3 separate regions of the Homo sapiens genome follow, and regions 2 and 3 are each linked to region 1. The links are contacts of gene promoters, found by promoter capture Hi-C in blood cells and fetal thymus (Javierre and others, 2016). All regions are on one chromosome and are shown on one strand. Each heading gives the region's core, a stretch centred on a gene start or on the middle of the fragment in contact. The rest is flanking DNA. Distances are from core to core; before and after follow the strand shown.

Evidence for each region. Contacts are between HindIII fragments. The CHiCAGO score rates a contact against its expected background, and 5 or more counts as called.
Region 2: the fragment with the promoter of TLN1 here is called in contact with a fragment that was not itself captured in region 1 in 1 of 17 cell types (erythroblasts); the score reaches 6.0 in erythroblasts.
Region 3: the fragment with the promoter of HINT2 here is called in contact with a fragment that was not itself captured in region 1 in 1 of 17 cell types (erythroblasts); the score reaches 5.9 in erythroblasts.

What each region holds. Positions count from the first base shown.
Region 1 is chr9:34,645,475-34,648,358 of GRCh38, forward strand. It overlaps GALT (galactose-1-phosphate uridylyltransferase), which reads left to right and starts at 1,201. Exons shown (of 11, transcript NM_000155.4): 1 at 1,201-1,312; 2 at 1,615-1,784; 3 at 2,018-2,093; 4 at 2,183-2,231; 5 at 2,358-2,487; 6 at 2,641-2,697; 7 at 2,860-2,884. The coding sequence starts at 1,231. RefSeq lists enhancers at 946-1,055, 1,626-1,805. The HindIII fragment of the contact is 523 bases long and covers 1,374-1,896 here.
Region 2 is chr9:35,730,760-35,733,543 of GRCh38, forward strand. TLN1 (talin 1) reads right to left here and starts at 1,436. Exons shown (of 57, transcript NM_006289.4): 1 at 1,316-1,436. It overlaps CREB3 (cAMP responsive element binding protein 3), which reads left to right and starts at 1,907. Exons shown (of 9, transcript NM_006368.5): 1 at 1,907-2,142; 2 at 2,237-2,384; 3 at 2,456-2,523; 4 at 2,637-2,726. The coding sequence starts at 2,014. MIR6853 (microRNA 6853) reads left to right here and starts at 2,163; the gene lies at 2,163-2,236. RefSeq lists enhancers at 993-1,042, 1,843-1,892, 1,943-2,032 and silencers at 1,223-1,512, 1,553-1,712. The HindIII fragment of the contact is 10,307 bases long and covers 1,012-2,784 here.
Region 3 is chr9:35,813,758-35,816,821 of GRCh38, forward strand. HINT2 (histidine triad nucleotide binding protein 2) reads right to left here and starts at 1,285. Exons shown (of 5, transcript NM_032593.3): 1 at 1,142-1,285; 2 at 1-27. The coding sequence starts at 1,222. It overlaps FAM221B (family with sequence similarity 221 member B), which reads right to left. Exons shown (of 7, transcript NM_001012446.4): 7 at 2,634-3,064. RefSeq lists silencers at 1,098-1,417, 1,748-1,927 and an enhancer at 1,478-1,657. The HindIII fragment of the contact is 5,278 bases long and covers 1-3,064 here.

The DNA.
Region 1 (2,884 bases), core at 385-2,884:
AGAGTGAGACTCTCTCTCAAACAAACAAACAAACAAAAGTACCAGGGGAGGAATTAATTTGAATTTTATCCTAGTGTTAGCCAATTGGTCCCATCCAAGGAAAATTTAGAAAAGGGAAGGGGATGTGTAAAGGAAACACTAGGCCCCACCTAGATGGTGGCTGGAGCTTCTGATAGTCCTGTACTCTCCACATTTTTAGACTTTCTTGTACTTTTTTTTTTTTTTTTGTGACGGAGTCTGCTCTGTCGCCAGGCTAGAGTGCATGGGCACAATCTCGGCTCACTGCAACCTCTGCCTCCTGGGTTCAAGTGATTCTCCTGCCTCAGCCTCCCGAGTAGGTGGGACTACAGGTGCACGCCACCAAGACCAGCTAATTTTTTTTTTTTTTTTTTTTACTAGAGACGGGGTTTCACCATGTTGGCCAGGATGGTCTCAATTTCTTGACCTTGTGATCCGCCTGCCTTGGTCTCCCAAAGTGTTGGGATTACAGGCGTGAGCCACCGAGCCCGGCCATTTTTAGATTTTTTTTTATAGCCCTTTTACCCCTCCCACTTCTTGTGCTGTCTTGGTGTGTGTATGAAAAAGAGAGAGAGAGAGAGAGGAAGGAGAGCAAGAGTGAGAGAAAAAGAGAATATGGTTACTTAGCCCTTTTTCCCAAATCTGTTTTTGCTTTTGGGGATAGGATATGGTTATGGTGAAGTACTCCACACAGACCCCACCAAGTTTGCCTCTCCTGCGCTACAGCCACTGAGCAGGTGACTGAGGCGCTGTTGATCCAGGGTCATATCCTTACTCGCCCTAGAATGTAAGCTCAGGCAGGGCAGAGGCCATGCCTGACATGTGCATCCCAATGCTTTACACAGCCTAGGTGCCTAGCACATGCTAGATGCTTGGTAAATATTTGCTGAATGAAAGATCAAATGAATGATTGCAGCAAGCAAGTCCTGTAGGCATCCTGGAGCCCAAGGATTCTGCAGTAGGCAGCTTTCACAGAGGTTCTTCCAGTGTAGTGGCTCTAGCTCTGGGTGAAGTAGGATCATCAATGTCGGCCCCCAGGGTTCACAGCTGTTCTGAGCCCCGCCCCCAGGTGGCAGGGCAGCCCAGTCAGTCAGTCACGTGCTGGCGGCTGGCCAATCATCGGGGGCGGCGCGGGGAGGGGTGGTGTGGACGGAGAAAGTGAAAGGTGAGGCACGGCCCTGCAGATTTTCCAGCGGATCCCCCGGTGGCCTCATGTCGCGCAGTGGAACCGATCCTCAGCAACGCCAGCAGGCGTCAGAGGCGGACGCCGCAGCAGCAACCTTCCGGGCAAACGGTAACTGCACCGCGGCAGGGACTCGCTGGGGCGCGGAGCCGAGCCCTCCCCTTCCTTAGGAAGCTTTCGTCCCCTCCGAAGGTTGGAACGCTCATCCCGAGCCAGACCGACAAGGCGTACAGTCTGCAGGCCTGTACGAGCAGCAGGCCAATTGGCGCTGGGAAAGTCCAATCCTGGGCCTCTAGCTCCTGAGCGGGACAGGGCCGAGAGGGCGCTCCCGAGCTTGGGCCTGCTGGTGGGTGAGACCCAGGAGAGAGGGAGCTAGAGAGCTCTGAGGACTGATCTTGACTGTCTGCCCCCAGACCATCAGCATATCCGCTACAACCCGCTGCAGGATGAGTGGGTGCTGGTGTCAGCTCACCGCATGAAGCGGCCCTGGCAGGGTCAAGTGGAGCCCCAGCTTCTGAAGACAGTGCCCCGCCATGACCCTCTCAACCCTCTGTGTCCTGGGGCCATCCGAGCCAACGGAGAGGTAAGCCTGTAGAGCCCTGCATCTGCAGGCTGGGCCACGGGGAGTAGTTCCCTCTTAGAACTGTCCTCCACCCACAGGGATAGTGAACCTCCTTCTGGGTCATATCCCACCAAGCTTTTTGGTCCCCTAGGGTGGGCCTTCCCTACTCCCTTGTAGCCTGTCCAGTCTTTGAAGCCCACCAGGTAACTGGTGGTATGGGGCAGTGAGTGCTTCTAGCCTATCCTTGTCGGTAGGTGAATCCCCAGTACGATAGCACCTTCCTGTTTGACAACGACTTCCCAGCTCTGCAGCCTGATGCCCCCAGTCCAGGTAACCTGGCTCCAACTGCTGCTGGGGAGGAGGGTGGCTAGACCTCTTGAGGGACTTCTGCTGCAGAGAGTGATACTCCTTTACCTCAGGACCCAGTGATCATCCCCTTTTCCAAGCAAAGTCTGCTCGAGGAGTCTGGTAACTATGGATTTCCCCTCTTACAACTTTCAAACCAGAGTTGGAGACTCAGCATTGGGGTTCGGCCCTGCCCGTAGCACAGCCAAGCCCTACCTCTCGGTTATCTTTTCTCCCGTCACCACCCAGTAAGGTCATGTGCTTCCACCCCTGGTCGGATGTAACGCTGCCACTCATGTCGGTCCCTGAGATCCGGGCTGTTGTTGATGCATGGGCCTCAGTCACAGAGGAGCTGGGTGCCCAGTACCCTTGGGTGCAGGTTTGTGAGGTCGCCCCTTCCCCTGGATGGGCAGGGAGGGGGTGATGAAGCTTTGGTTCTGGGGAGTAACATTTCTGTTTCCACAGGGTGTGGTCAGGAGGGAGTTGACTTGGTGTCTTTTGGCTAACAGAGCTCCGTATCCCTATCTGATAGATCTTTGAAAACAAAGGTGCCATGATGGGCTGTTCTAACCCCCACCCCCACTGCCAGGTAAGGGTGTCAGGGGCTCCAGTGGGTTTCTTGGCTGAGTCTGAGCCAGCACTGTGGACATGGGAACAGGATTAATGGATGGGACAGAGGAAATATGCCAATGATGTGGAGGCTTGGAGGTAAAGGACCTGCCTGTTCTTCTCTGCTTTTGCCCCTTGACAGGTATGGGCCAGCAGTTTCCTGCCAG
Region 2 (2,784 bases), core at 186-2,685, 1.1 Mb after region 1:
TCAGGGATGAGAGTTGGAGAGGAGGGCTTAATACCAAGAGAACAAGTGAAGTGGGAGAAGCAGGGCTAAACTTTCAGGGGATTCAGTTATTCCCTTCTCCCATGGCAACAGTGATTCCTTGGTTAGCTTCCCCCATAGTCATCAGCTCCTTCTTCCCTAGGCAGTCCCCAACTTGTGACTAGGCCTTGTACATCCTGGGTCCCTATTTCCCACCTATGTTGTCTGTAAACAACACAGTCCAGAATCTCTGTCCCCTAACTGTGGTGGCCACAGCAAGGGCCTTGGGCTTAGAGAATGGAATAAAGAAGCTGGAATCCCAGATGCCTGCAATTCTAGCTAAAGCCAGAACGCTAGCCTGAAATTAGTTTATCTCTCTGGGTAAAAAGAAGCCCCTGTAACTACATAGGAATAAAGGATTTCCCTACAAAAGAAGGGCATTTACCTACTGCCAACCTCTTAAATTTTATCTGCTCAAGGTCAACTATGCTAGCCTCAAACCACAACCCCTAAAGCTGCCCCAAATTCCTAACATTAACCCCACCTCTAATTTGTTTCCTGATTCCCAGTACCGGCTTGGACATTCATCCCTTTCCTAGCACAGACTCATATCCAATCCCTGATCCCTGAAACTGATCTAAGTTTTGCCTTTAGCACCAAATCCCCTGATGTTAACCCTAAATGTTGACCCCTAAGCCTAAAGTTCATTTATAATTTGATTCCTAACTCACGCTTTCACTGTTTATCCTTAACACCGACCATGCCAACATTCTTTAATCCCTCAAACAAGCTCTAACCTGATTCCTGTTGTTTGTTGACCCTTAACCTGACCCTGAACTCAAATTATGACGTATGATGGCCATCCCAGCAAACAAGATAATGACCGTAATCTAAACCTTACCTATCTAAAACGGACCTGACTCACACTAACTCTTAAGTTTTAACCCCAGCTTTTAACTCCTATAGCGACCCTTGATTCCTAAACGGACCCCACCTAATCCCCAACTCACCCAAAGCTTTCCTACCCACATGCCCGCTATCAGCTAACACCAAAGCCCGTCCCCGCCCTGCGCCCCGCTGCCACCCGACTCCTCACGCTCCCCAAAGCCTATCCCAGACATAGGACTGCTCCCAGGAAAGGCCTGTCTTCCCCAAGACGGCCTACTTCACGCCGAGCTCAAGCCGAGATGCGCTGGACGCTGACCTCTCCAACTAATAGGACCCGAACCGGACACGCAAGAGAGGCAGGGCCCGCCCGCCCCGGGGCCAGGCCCCGCGGCCCCACCCTAAGGCCCCCGCCCGGCCCGGTCTGGCCTACCTGCGCTGCCTGGCTCTGCGCCCCGCCCGCCGGCCCGCCGCCCCGCCGCTTCTCGGGTCGCCCTCGGGCTCCGGCCTCGCCCTCCCTTCGACACTCTCTCGGCCACTTCCGTCCTGGGAACGTCCCCCACCCGCGGGCGGCGCCCTGGGCCCGCGCTCTATGGTCGCGGGGGGCAGGCAGGAAGCTGCTCTGGCCCCGTTCTCGATGCTCGGGAGCCGCCAAAGCCCGGCAGCCCCTCCCTGGCAGGAAGCGAGGGTGCGGCGCAATCCGGAGAGGACGCCAGGACGACGCCCGAGTTCCCTTTCAGGCTAGAACTCTTCCTTTTTCTAGCTTGGGGTAGAAGGCGGAGCCGGAGCCCCGGAACCCCCGCCCTCGGGGTGCGAGGCGGCAGCAGGGCCGTCCCCTACATTTGCATAGCCCCTGGGACGTGGCGCTGCACCCAAGCCTCTTCTCAGTTGGAGGGAACTCCAAGTCCCACAGTGCCACGGGGTGGGGTGCGTCACTTTCGCTGCGTTGGAGGCTGAGGAGAATTGAGCCTGGGAGGCGGGTCCGGAGAGGGCTATGGAAAGCCGCCGGCGGGGAATCCCGGCCGTAGAGGGACAGTGGATAGGTGCCCGAGGCCTACAGCTGGCCTGGGGCTCGTGTCTGGGCTTCGGACGTTGGGGCCCGGTGGCCCACCCTTTCCGTAGTTGTCCCAAATGGAGCTGGAATTGGATGCTGGTGACCAAGACCTGCTGGCCTTCCTGCTAGAGGAAAGTGGAGATTTGGGGACGGCACCCGATGAGGCCGTGAGGGCCCCACTGGACTGGGCGCTGCCGCTTTCTGAGGTAGGTTGGGGTTCTGACTGGGGAAAGCGTGGGATGTCCATGAAGTCAGGTGATGGTGATAAGGTCAAGGCCTGTTCATTGGAACCCTGCGCAGGTACCGAGCGACTGGGAAGTAGATGATTTGCTGTGCTCCCTGCTGAGTCCCCCAGCGTCGTTGAACATTCTCAGCTCCTCCAACCCCTGCCTTGTCCACCATGACCACACCTACTCCCTCCCACGGGAAACTGTCTCTATGGATCTAGGTGAGTCTGAAATAAGTTTGCGGGGAGGACAGGGTTCATGGGCCTGGCTATTCATACTTTCCCTTTTGCAGAGAGTGAGAGCTGTAGAAAAGAGGGGACCCAGATGACTCCACAGCATATGGAGGAGCTGGCAGAGCAGGTACTTGACTTGATTTTCAGGAGATTACTCTCACATTCCCCAGGTGGGGGCAGGATTCCCCATTCCTCTCTGACATCCCCATGCAACTGCCGTCCACTTTCTTGTTACCCTAGGAGATTGCTAGGCTAGTACTGACAGATGAGGAGAAGAGTCTATTGGAGAAGGAGGGGCTTATTCTGCCTGAGACACTTCCTCTCACTAAGGTAAGACTCTCATTGGTTGAACAAAGGCTGAAAAGGGATTAAAAGTCCCAAGTAGGCA
Region 3 (3,064 bases), core at 35-2,534, 1.2 Mb after region 1:
ATCAGTCACACCTGCAGCTCCTCGGACCTGAAGGTGGATCGACCATATTCAAAGGAGGGAGCTGGCAGAAGCTGGGCTCTGATAGTTGTTAATTTCGTCCTTCTAATAACCTATTCATCGTTCCCACCCAGGAGGAAAGTTCCTGAATTTCAGAGCACCAGCAGCAAAGGGTAGGGCCAGAAGGTGCTGGACCTGGTTAGATAACAGGCGGTATTATTATCAGGATTCAGCAGTGCAATTGATTCCTGCTCATGTGTCCACGAAATATAGCACTGTTTAGGGAAAGGATCTAGAATGAGAGACTGGGGATTTTGGTCTCAGTTCCTACCTTACCATACCACTGAATTACCTCAGATAAATTCCTTCTCTCAGCTTCTAATATAAAATAAAGGGATGGTTTCCATAATCTCTTGCGATGGCTTGAATCTCTTTCCACTCTCACCTTGTTAGTACATTTCCACTTATTTCCGTTACTTGTTTTCTGATCTTTAAGCCTTGTCGCCTGTTTTATTTAAGTTTTAATGCAATCGCCCTGTTTGACACTAGTTGACCCCTCATCTGGGTGTCACATGTGACTCTGTGAATTTTAACTCTTGTCCCTTGAATGAGTGGAGGTAAGAGTTCAGCTAAGTGACCTCTGCTCCCCTAGCCCCAGGGAACTTCGGGTAAGGGATTCAGAGAAGGCTGATGTCATTGCATCACGTTGGGGGAGAACGGGACGGAATGAATTCTCTGACCTCCGAGCCGCTTCTGGCAAGTGCAGAAGAGAGGTTAACACTAGTGCTCATTAGGAGGCCAGAAGCCTGAGGAGGGCAGAGCACTGGCTCCAAGAAGAGAAAGCTCATTTCCTGCAGGGGGCATCGGGCCAGCTGGGCTGCAGGCAGTGGAAAGAAGGCGGCAGCCGCTGCACTGACCCTGTCCCGACCTCGGCGCCCCGGCCTGCGCAGGGCGGGAATCAGCACCAGCTCGTTCTCCGGAGCCACCAGTTCGACCTCACCACACAGCCCCGGAGCTTGTGCCTCGGAGGGGCAGAGGCCACAGGCAGGAGCTCTGCGCGGCTCTGCGCGCCTTCGGGACCCCCTGGCCCCGGATGGCTTCGGAGCCCGCAGGACCCCCTACTCGCTCCCGCGCCACTTCTCACCTGCCCCCCGCGCACCCCCGTGGCCGCCACGGCTCTGCGCGCCGCGCGCAACCCAGCAGCCAGCACCACGGCTGCCGCCATCTTCCCTGAGCCGCGGGAACCTCTCACCCGGGTCAGCACTCGGCTCCGCGGCCGGCCGTGGGTGGGGACTCCGGGCGCGGGGAAGCGGGGTAGTGGCGGCCGGGCGAGCCCTGCTACCCCATTGGAGCGCGCCTCTGAGCACGATTCACCCCATTGCCTCTGCAGCCACTTTGGAGGCGGGCTCTTTTCATCTCATTGGCTGCTTCTACCAACGCGAGGACAATTTTCCATTCCATTGGTTTCGTCTTCTAGTCCGTGTGAACGTTCTTTTCCCATTGGATCCCCTTACTAGTTTCTCTGTGAGAGAAACTTCCACTCCATTGGAAGGATTAATGGAGCCTGGAGGTGGGATTTTCTCCTAGTTGAATCTGATACACAACTCTGGCTTCTAGGTTGCGGCTCCCGAGTGGGTGGTTCTTTTCGTTCTTGGTTCGTCCTCTTCAGGTCTGGTTCCTATTGGTGCGCGGGGAGAAGGGGGCGGGGCTCCGCCACCTGCTGCAGAAAGGGCTGTTTTAGACCCTCTCACCGCTTTGGCCAGGAGGAGGGCGGGGCTCTGAGGGCATCCGGCGCTTATTGGCTCCAAGAACCACCCGGGGTGGGGCTAAAGGTGAACGGGGATGAGGTGTGTTTTTTTGTGTTTGTTTGTTTGTTTTAACTGGCGGGGCTGATGCGCAGCATTTTCTCCACAAGGGCAGTTTCAGTCCCTTGAGCATTTTGGAGATTTTAATGTACTTATCTAAGGGAAATTCTTCCTTAATTCTATGTTCTTGTTAACGCATTCACTCCATAGATTAAAAAGTCTGTGGTTTTTGCATTTTTTTTTTTTGAGCAGGAGGAGATAAGAGTGTCCTATATTTGCCGCACAAGAATTATAATAAGCAAAGGAGTATGTATTCATTGTTCTTTTCTAATCGGAAAAGGTGTGTGATACAGTTAGCTCGGTGCCTGGTGTTTTCTTTTTTTTTCTTTTTTTCTTTTTTCTTTTTTTTTTTTTTTGAGACGGAGTCTCGCTCTGTCGCCCAGGCTGGAGTGCAGTGGCGCGATCTCGGCTCACTGCAAGCTCCGCCTCCCGAGTTCACGCCATTCTCCTGCCTCAGCCTCCCGAGTAGCTGGGACTACAGGCACCCGCCACCACGCCCGGCTAATTTTTTGTATTTTTATTAGAGACGGGGTTTCACCGTGTTAGCCAGGATGGTCTCGATCTCCTGACCTCGTGATCCTCCTGCCTCGGCCTCCCAAGGTGCTGGGATTACAGGTATGAGGCACCAATAAGTCAGGTTTGCACTGCTGGAATATATATTTTTGACATAAGAAACGTGGGGTCACAAAATACTAATATTCTCAGACGCTAGGTAAGTTTTAGTCTGATATCACATAGGACAAGTTACCACTGTTTCTTTGGTTTTTCTTTTTTTCTTTTTTTTTTTTTTAAACACATGACCTGATACATATAGGTGGTCAGTAATTGTTGAATGAATAACATTTGGTGTTTCCTGTCTTTTTTTCATAATATGTAATATGTATTGCATATGATACTAACCCATGTGTAATCAATTTTTCATATTTTTACAGTCTACGTAAATATAGTTTGTATTGGCTGCTTATTATTTCCTTCAATGAGTTTATCATAGTAATCCTAACTCTATTGTTGACTATTAGTTGAATTAGTTTTAGGTGAATGGTTATCATGGGGCATATAACCACTGTTGGGGAACTTTGCTTCTAGAGATATAACAATCTCTTTTGTATAGCTATATTATTGTTAGAAAATCCTTTCTCCTCTAAAGGGCAGACATTTGATTCTGTGATTTTCCCCAGGGATCCTAGCAGTCCAGATTGCAT